Linked DNA regions of Homo sapiens: region 1 is linked to region 2. The links are contacts of gene promoters, found by promoter capture Hi-C in blood cells and fetal thymus (Javierre and others, 2016). All regions are on one chromosome and are shown on one strand. The core of a region is centred on a gene start or on the middle of the fragment in contact, and the rest is flanking DNA. Distances in the headings are between cores, read along the strand shown. Region 1 has its middle 4.9 kb from the start of FOXN1. Region 2 holds the start of RAB34 (RAB34, member RAS oncogene family).

Region 1 (4,038 bases), core at 20-2,519, 220 kb before region 2:
AATCACCATCATTAACTGGGCAATAAAGCGGCACGGCCTGGGCTAGTCTTTGAAGGAAGGGCCCGCCAGCCAGGTCAGGTTTACACAGGCAGCCCGGCAGCTCGGCTCCACACACACTCCAGGCTGCGGCAGGTAGATGGGCCCTGCTGGGACTGAGTCTGCAGCCTCGCTGCCCAGGCACCCACACCCCATCATTGATGGCTTCTAGGAAGTTAGCAGTGAGCTTTGGGTGTCTCCTACCAGCTGGACTTGTGCGGTGCTGGGACTCAACAACTTCTGCGGTAGTGAGCATCCCATTGCTAAGATCAACAAGTCTGGAAGTGACTTGAGGACAGTCTGCCTGATTCGAGCTGTGTCCCCAGTTCCTCCACAGGGCCTGGCACAGCAAATAGTGCATGAAGGAGGAATGTGTGGGAACTATACGGGAGCTTCTTGCTCCCAGAGGGAAGCTGGACACGCTCCCCTCCAAGCCTCTTTCCAGACTGCCGTGTGTGGAGTGCTGTGTGACTTTGAGAAATATCTTGACCTCTCTGGGCCAATGTCACCTTAAGCTCAGCAGATAGGCCCAGATTTCTGAGCCGACCCATAGTGTTCCCCTGACCCTGTCCCCTGAGGTCCTGGGAGTGTCCCTGTTTCCCTACTCCCTCCTCCTGCCAGCCAGCACCAGCCCTCTATGGCAACCACAGGGCCCAGGGATAGGTGGAGCTTGTTAGGGAGCTTGTGGAGGCAGGAGCAGGGCTGTCCACACCACTCTCTGAGTTCACCTGGACCTGGGCCCCGGCCAAAGTGCGCTCTAGAGGTTAAGGTCATTGGCCCCAGAGTAGGCTCCTTGGGGGCGCAGGCCATGACTTCCTATCTCCTCACAGTCTTGGAGGGGAGGCTGCTTTCTGAAGGAGGGAGGGAAGGGTGGAGGAAGCTAGGGAGTGTTGGGTCAGGGGTCGAGTAGAACTGGGTGGGTGAAGTTCTGGTGGAGTACCAGTCTCCAACCCTGCAGCCTCCACCCCAGTTTGGCAAGGGAAGGGGAAGGGGGTGTGCAGAGGAGAAGGCAAGGAAGGGAACAGAGCAGCCTAGTTGGAAAGAATGTGACGGGGACTCAGAAGAGTGCTCTGAAGGGTGGAAAGACCCACAAATGTGTGTACGTGGAGTCACAGATCCTTGGGTACCCACAGAACCCATAGACACATGCACAGACATGGATACCCGGGAACACACAGTTACACACATTCACACACAAACACTCATGCATACAACATTACAGGCTCTCACAGCCTGAAAGACACACAGGACCACCCCCAGAAACACACACAGACATACACAGCCACAGCCACCTGTACACACACAGTCGCTCAGACGCCTCCGCACCCCGTGTCAGACCTGAGTGTTCTCGCTGCATGTGGCTACCCACATTTAGACACAGATTCTGGCACGGACATACCCAGTAGCACATTACAGCTCCACAGACTTCAGGCGCACCCATGGTGACACGTGAAAGTGAGAACACAAATGTAAATACGTACACACTCATGCAGAGGTACACATGTACTTACACAGACACTGACACCAGTGAAAACACACACACCCCAGCATTGCTTCTCCCACCTCCACAGCAGGAGGGATTAAGACAAGAGGTGAGAAGCCCTCCCCACCCAGCAGGACTCTGTGTTCCTCCCCCACCGACCCCCCCACCAAGCTCTCAGATTGGAAACTCCCTGGATTTCCCAGGGGGTCAGCCAACCAGAACAGGCTCAGACCTCGGCCCAGCTGCCCCGCCACACGCCCTCCACAGCTCTGGGTGCTTCTCCATCAGCCACAGCCAATGAGCTGTCTGCTCTTCCCCAGGAAGCTCACCCTAATTAACCCCAGATCTCCCCACCCCTTCTTTGACATGTGGTCCCTGGGCCTCAGGGCCTCATGGCAGCTTTGCTTGGGCCCTGTTCCTCTGTGGATGTTCTTCAGTGTCTTGCACACCAGTGGAGTGAGACTTGGAAAGCAGCAGGCTCAAATCTTGGGAACTCACTTTGGAAAAGCAAGTCCAGCCTGCATGAGCGGAAGCAGACAGAAGATGGCCAATCCAGATGCAGGGTTCAGGAAGGGGTCCCCCTCCTCCATCACATTGGGGCTCCCAAGGGTGGGCACATGCTCTTCCTTCTTCCTAGCGTCCCTAGGGTCTTTCCCCAGACTGAAGCATAGCAGACATGGGCCCCAGGGATTTCCATCCCCAGCCAGGGCTGTTTTCTGGCCCAAAGCAGCCCAGCCCTGGGCACAGCTCAGCAGCATACAGTGAACTGCTTCTGACCTCCAGTATTCAGAGGGACAGAGCTTTCTCTGGCCCCAGCCTGTCTAAGCATCTAGCTGCAGCTCCTCCAGGCCAGAGCCCAGCTCAGCTCCATCTGAGGACCTGAAATGAGGGTGCTGGAGTGTGTGGGACCAAAACTCCAGACAAAAGTCCTTTCCCAATACTGCAGCAGCTGGAGTTGAGGCTAGACACCAGGACAGACTTTCTGGGCCTAAGAGAGAATTCTGGAGGGCTGGTGTGATGAGAGAAGGAGGGGATGGTCCTATCTAGAGACAGAGGAGAAACACCTCACAAATCCCCTTTCAGTCCAAGGACTGTGGCAATCCCAAGGTTCCTGTTTCAACTCCCAGACTGCATGCAATGAGGAAGTCATGCTTCCCAAAGGAAAGAGGGAGCCAGAGCCAGAGCCTACACCCATTCCTGGGGCAGAGGTGGATCCTGATTTGGAAGAGAAAGAAGTTCATCTCACCCGCCAGAAGCAGTCTCACTGTGGGAGGTGATAACTACAGTCTCTCCTGGGCATCCCATCAGGGCCTCCCTGAGACCCTTGGCCCCTGAATTAATTTGCATTTTCTTGATTTTTAATGAAGTTGAAAATCGTTTCACTTGTGTCTTGGCCGTTTGTATTTTACCTGTGAATTGCTTGTGTCCTTTGCCCATTTTTCTGTGAAATCATCTTTTTATTTATTTAGAGGAGCTCCTTATATATTGTGGCTATTAACTCTCTATCTGTTACATATGTTTCAACACTTTCTTCCAGGCTATGTTATGTCTTTTAACTTTGTTCATGTTACATTTTGCTCTAAAGAAATTTACAGTTTTTATTTAGTCAAATCTGTCAATGTATTCCTTTATGGCTTCTGCATTTGATGTCATGTTTAAAAATGCCTTTCTCCACTCCATAATCATAAAAATATTTCCTATATTTTTTCTATTTGTTTGTATGATTTTCATTTTTACATTAGATTGTTAATCCATCTAGATTTTTTAATGTACAGTGTGAAGTAGGATTTAACTTTATTTCTTTCCAATGGAAAGTTCATTGCCCCAACTCCATTTATTAAATTTTTTACTTGCTACTTTAAAATACTTTACAGTCCAGATGTCGTGGCTCAAGCTTATAATACCAGTGCTTTGGGAGTTTGAGACCAGCCTGGGCAACAGAGCAACACCCCATCTCTACAAAAAAAAATTCTTTTTTAACTAACTGAGCATGGTATAACTGTAGTCCCAGCTACTGGGGAGGCTGAAGTGAGAGGATCACTTGAGTCCAGGAGGTGGAGGCTGCAGTGAGCTATGATCTTGCCACTGCACTCCAGCCTGGGCAACAGAGCGAGACCCTGTCTCAGAAAAATAAAGTAAAATACCCTACTATTATATATCTATTTTAAAATACCTTGTTATCATATTCCCATTTCTCACAAATATCCAAGTTTATTCTGGACTCTATTATCTTCCATTAATTTATTTATTTCTGTATCAAAGTTGCAGCTTTAATTATGGAAGCCTTATTGAACATTTTGAAAACTGGCAGGGAAAGTTACCTCTGTTAGTCTTCTTTCTCAAAAAGCTCCAAGCTATTCTCATGTATTTACCCTTCCCCCAAACTATAGAATCAACTCGTCAAGTTTAGGGGGCAAAAAATCCTTTAGACTTTTGATTTGAATTACATTCAGCTTCTATTTAGAGGAGAACTGACATCCTTACAATATTATATTCAGCCTTCCTGTTGTTGCTGTTTT
Region 2 (4,042 bases), core at 1,382-3,881:
GGAAGGGTCATTCTCCTTCAGGGCATCGGCCAGCCACTGCCTGCCATGGGAGGTGGAAAGTAAGGGATGAGTGAGTCTGCAGGGCCCCTCCCACTGACATTCATAGGCCCAATTACCCCCTCTCTGGTCCTACATGCATTCTTCTTCTTCCTGACCACCCCTCTGTTCTGAACCCTCTCTTCCCGGAGCCTCCCATTATATTGCAGGATGCTCACTTACTTGGTATGTTCCAGAGATGCCACATCATTCAGGTTGAAGACAATGATGATGGCTGGAAGAGTGGCAGAAACAGCCCCAGGTTGACAGGGAAGACACTACTGCTCATTTCCCCAATCCTTCCAGCTCCATATGAGAAGCCATGTGCACTCTGAGACCCACCTACCCCACTTCACCCAGCCCCTTACCTTGAGCTCCTCTATAGTAGGTTGATGCAATGCATTTGAACCTCTCCTGCCCAGCGGTATCCCAACTGGAAGGAAGGAAGAGTGAAGCACAGGTATGTATCTTGGGGGGTGTGGGTGCTGGGGAGAAGGGATAGCTGGAAGGGGTGTGGAAGCACTCACAGCTGCAAACTGAAGGGAATGCCCAGCACCTCAAATCGTTCCATCTCGAAGTCCACTCCAATGGTGGCCTTGTAATTCTTATCAAAGGTGTCTTTGCAGAACCTGAGAGGGTACCAGATGCTGTGATCTGGAGCCAGCCCACCTGGCTAGGCTTGGCCCCACCCTGCCCAGCTCAGCTCCAGCACCCCCTTACCTATTAATGAGGCAAGTCTTCCCCACCGACAGGTCCCCCACCACAATGACCTTGGAGATCTTAAATCTGCTGGACACAAGAGTGGGCAAGGGGAGTGGGCACGAGCTCTTTCACCCTAGGGAGTTCCAATGCTCCCGACTAGGTCCAGAAAGGTAGCTGCACCCAGGCTGAGGGTATTATAGACACCAGGCATCCCAGGCAGCTGCGTGGACAGGTGTGCTGGGGAGGAGGAGTGTTTTGTGCTCCAGAAGCAGAGAGACATGAATTTGAATCCCAGCTCTCACACTGATTAGCTGTGTGACTTTGGACACGTTATTTAGCCTCTCTAAGCCTCAGTTTAAACATTTAAGTAAAGTTAGTATATATTTTACTGGGTCGTTGTGAAGGTTAAAATGAGATAAATGTCCTATATTCTAAGACACCCTCCCCCCCGCATTTTAATGTCTGAAATCAGGATATATCTTAAGTGATGGACTTTTCCATTCAATAAAGATGATAGTACCCAACACTGCCTGGCACACAGCAAATGCTTAATTAATGGTGCCAACTGTTATCAGTATTACCTTTAAAACCCACAATAAGACTCATCCCTGTAAGCACAGCCAGACCCCTGCCCTGGGGCTCCATGGATGCTATGTGGGGATCTGAGCAGGTGACCACCTTCCCATTTCAGACACCTTAGTCTCTACTCAGAAATCCAGCTGCCACCCTTCTACCCAACCCCATCTCATAGAACTCACAACAACCTTGTTGGGAGAAAAGGAGGGGATACAGGGGCTTAAAGAGGGGGAAATAACCATATAGCTGGTAGGGGCTGAAATGAAGCCCCAAGGGGGTGGTTGTTTACCCTCGCTATGACTACAGAGTTTCCTGGGACCTCCTCTCTTTGTTGTGGGTGTCCCTAACTCACCCCACGGTGCCTGTCCGGTGCTCCTGGCAGGCGCAGGTGACGCGGGGGTGGAAGTCTTTGTGCCCGTGCAAAGCGGCCTCCTTCCTCAGGCACTTAGTGGGAAGGATGGAAGAGAATGGAGCTTCCTACTCCTGGCCCTTGTCCCGCAGCCAAGCGGCCCGGGTAGGGGTGGAGTGCAGGGACCACCCAGAAGCACCAGGCCTAGCTGGGTGGCAGGGCTGGGCCCAGTCCTCTAACTGGTCTGGTGCCGCCTCCTCCTCGCCCACACCCCGGGCTGTAGACTGAAGCCCGACGTGGCCCCGGCGCCTACCTGGGGCAGCTCCGCCAGGACGCGATCCCTCCGCACGGGTGCCAGAATGTTCATCCTGCCTGCGGCCTTGCAGGGCGCCCTGAGAAGGCGCCGAGGCCGGATCCGCGTCAGCGACCCGGGCGCGTGGAGACCCGACGATCACCCGCGGCCGGGGTGTCCCGACTACAACTCGGGGCCACGGGGACCCTACGGGAGTCCGCGGTCTCGGAGACGCTACGACCACCGCGGGCCACGGAGATGAAACAATCACCCGGGGCCGCGGCGAGCCCAAAATCACCCGGGCCCTGGGCGTCCCGAAGATGACTCTGGGGCGAGGAGACTCTTCGGCCGCCAATTGGGGGCGGGGAGTCCCGTCTGGTGGGGGCCGGGCCCGCGCAGACCCTACGATTACGCGGGGCCGGATAGTTCCTACGATTACGCGGGGCCGGATGGTTCCTACAATAACCCGGGGCCGCGGAGACCCGACGTCATCTCGGGGCTGAGGCTGCCCTACCATTACAGAGCGGCCCGGGGGCGCGGAGCGGCCCCGCCACACGGGGTCAGTGTGGGCAGGGGCGGCGCTGCCAAGGCCCGCAGGCCGCTGGAGGAGGGGGCGAGGGGCCCAGTCCGGCTACAGGGCCTCGAGTCCCACTCCGCTCGGGCTCCGCCAACGCTGTAACACGATCCCCGGAAATTCCTGGAGAAGGGCCGCCCCCCGCCCCTCTCCTGGCGGCTCCAGGCCTCGCTGCCCGCCCTCGCCACCCCCTCCTCTCCACCCTTCTGCGTTGCCCCGCTCAGGCTCCCTCTTTTGACGCTTCACCGGGCACCAGGACCGCCCCGACCCAGGCTGGAGCCTATCCAGATAGGGACTCCCCAGGCTGCTCTCCCCTGCACCTCTATACCCGGCTGCGCCTTCATGGGGACCCTTACCCAGCCGAATTGGTGATGGGGAATCGGAGACTGCTGCGCAGCATCTGGCGATGCCAGGAACCAGCAGGGAGGGGAAAGGGGGAGAGAAGGGGCCCAAGGAGAGGCGGCGCTTCCCTCCTCAACTCCAGGCCTGGGAGGTGACTCATAGAGTCTGCCCCCTCTCGCCCTTCTGCCCTGGGAGGTCGGGGGTGAGGATGGTGGAGGGGAAGCGTGCGAAGGGGGTGCCAGGGTTAGAATGAGGTGCCCACCGAGGAGAGAGACGTCTGAAGTCTGGCGTCTTTTCCTTCAAGGCTGCTGTGTAGATTGTGAGGTGGGAGGGCTGAAGATCAAGTTCCCTCGAGGGAGGTTAAAGAAGGGCTAAGTGGACCCGGAAACTCTGCTCTTCGGGGTGGTCTCCGCTCTGGGAGGCGGGGACTCCCCTCTGGTATGGGTGTTCATTGTTCTGGCCCCATTGGAATCTATCCCCCAGGGACAACTCCTTTGTGCAAAGTCCTGCAGGATAGAAGAGGGGGCAGTGCACAATCAATTTCACCGTCAAAGGGGACATGTCTGGTTTTATGAAGGGAGAGGGAAGAAGAAAGGATCAAGTGGGGATGGGTTAGGCACACACCTTAGGAGAAGCGAACCTGAGTGTTAAGAAACCTTTCTCTGTGTCTGGAGCTGAATTTGAGGATGTAAAGATGACCAGGACACGGAAGGGAAGACTAGTTTAGGGCAGGGGATTGTGAGTGAAGTTACTAACCGGAAAAACTAGCGAATCTTGGAGAAATGTGTGGAATTTTCATAGAACTTCAAATGCATTATCAGGAAACGCAGTAAAACTTGACAGTATCAGTGTCGCAGGTAAAGAGGGGCAGGTGTGGCCGCCTTGTACTTCCTCTGACACTTCCCCCTCGTGACTCGATTATTTATTTATTTATTTATTTATTTATTTTGAGACAGGGTCTCACTCTGCCACCCAGGCTGGAATGGCTCATTGCAGCCTCGACCTCCAGGGCTGAAGCGATCCTCCCACCTCAGCCTCCCAAGGAACTGGGACTACAGGCACGCACCACCACGCCCGGCTAATTTTTGTATTCTTTTGTAGAGACAGGGTTTCGCCGTGTTGCCCAGGGTGGTCTCGAACTCCTGGGCTCGAAGCAATTCGTCCACCTCGG

What was found. Contacts are between HindIII fragments. The CHiCAGO score rates a contact against its expected background, and 5 or more counts as called.
Region 1: a contact is called between a fragment that was not itself captured here and the fragment with the promoter of RAB34 in region 2, in 1 of 17 cell types (naive B cells). The highest score is 5.5, in naive B cells.

What each region holds. Positions count from the first base shown.
Region 1 is chr17:28,499,390-28,503,427 of GRCh38, forward strand. No RefSeq gene overlaps it. Among named protein-coding and RNA genes, the nearest start is that of FOXN1, 4.9 kb to the right of the region's middle. RefSeq lists a silencer at 1,759-1,955. The HindIII fragment of the contact is 4,283 bases long and covers 1-3,411 here.
Region 2 is chr17:28,715,237-28,719,278 of GRCh38, forward strand. It overlaps RAB34 (RAB34, member RAS oncogene family), which reads right to left and starts at 2,632. Exons shown (of 10, transcript NM_031934.6): 1 at 1,977-2,632; 2 at 1,667-1,758; 3 at 757-822; 4 at 564-665; 5 at 405-469; 6 at 220-271; 7 at 1-40. The coding sequence starts at 2,030. RefSeq lists a silencer at 2,465-2,724 and enhancers at 3,405-4,005, 4,006-4,042. The HindIII fragment of the contact is 7,301 bases long and covers 1-4,042 here.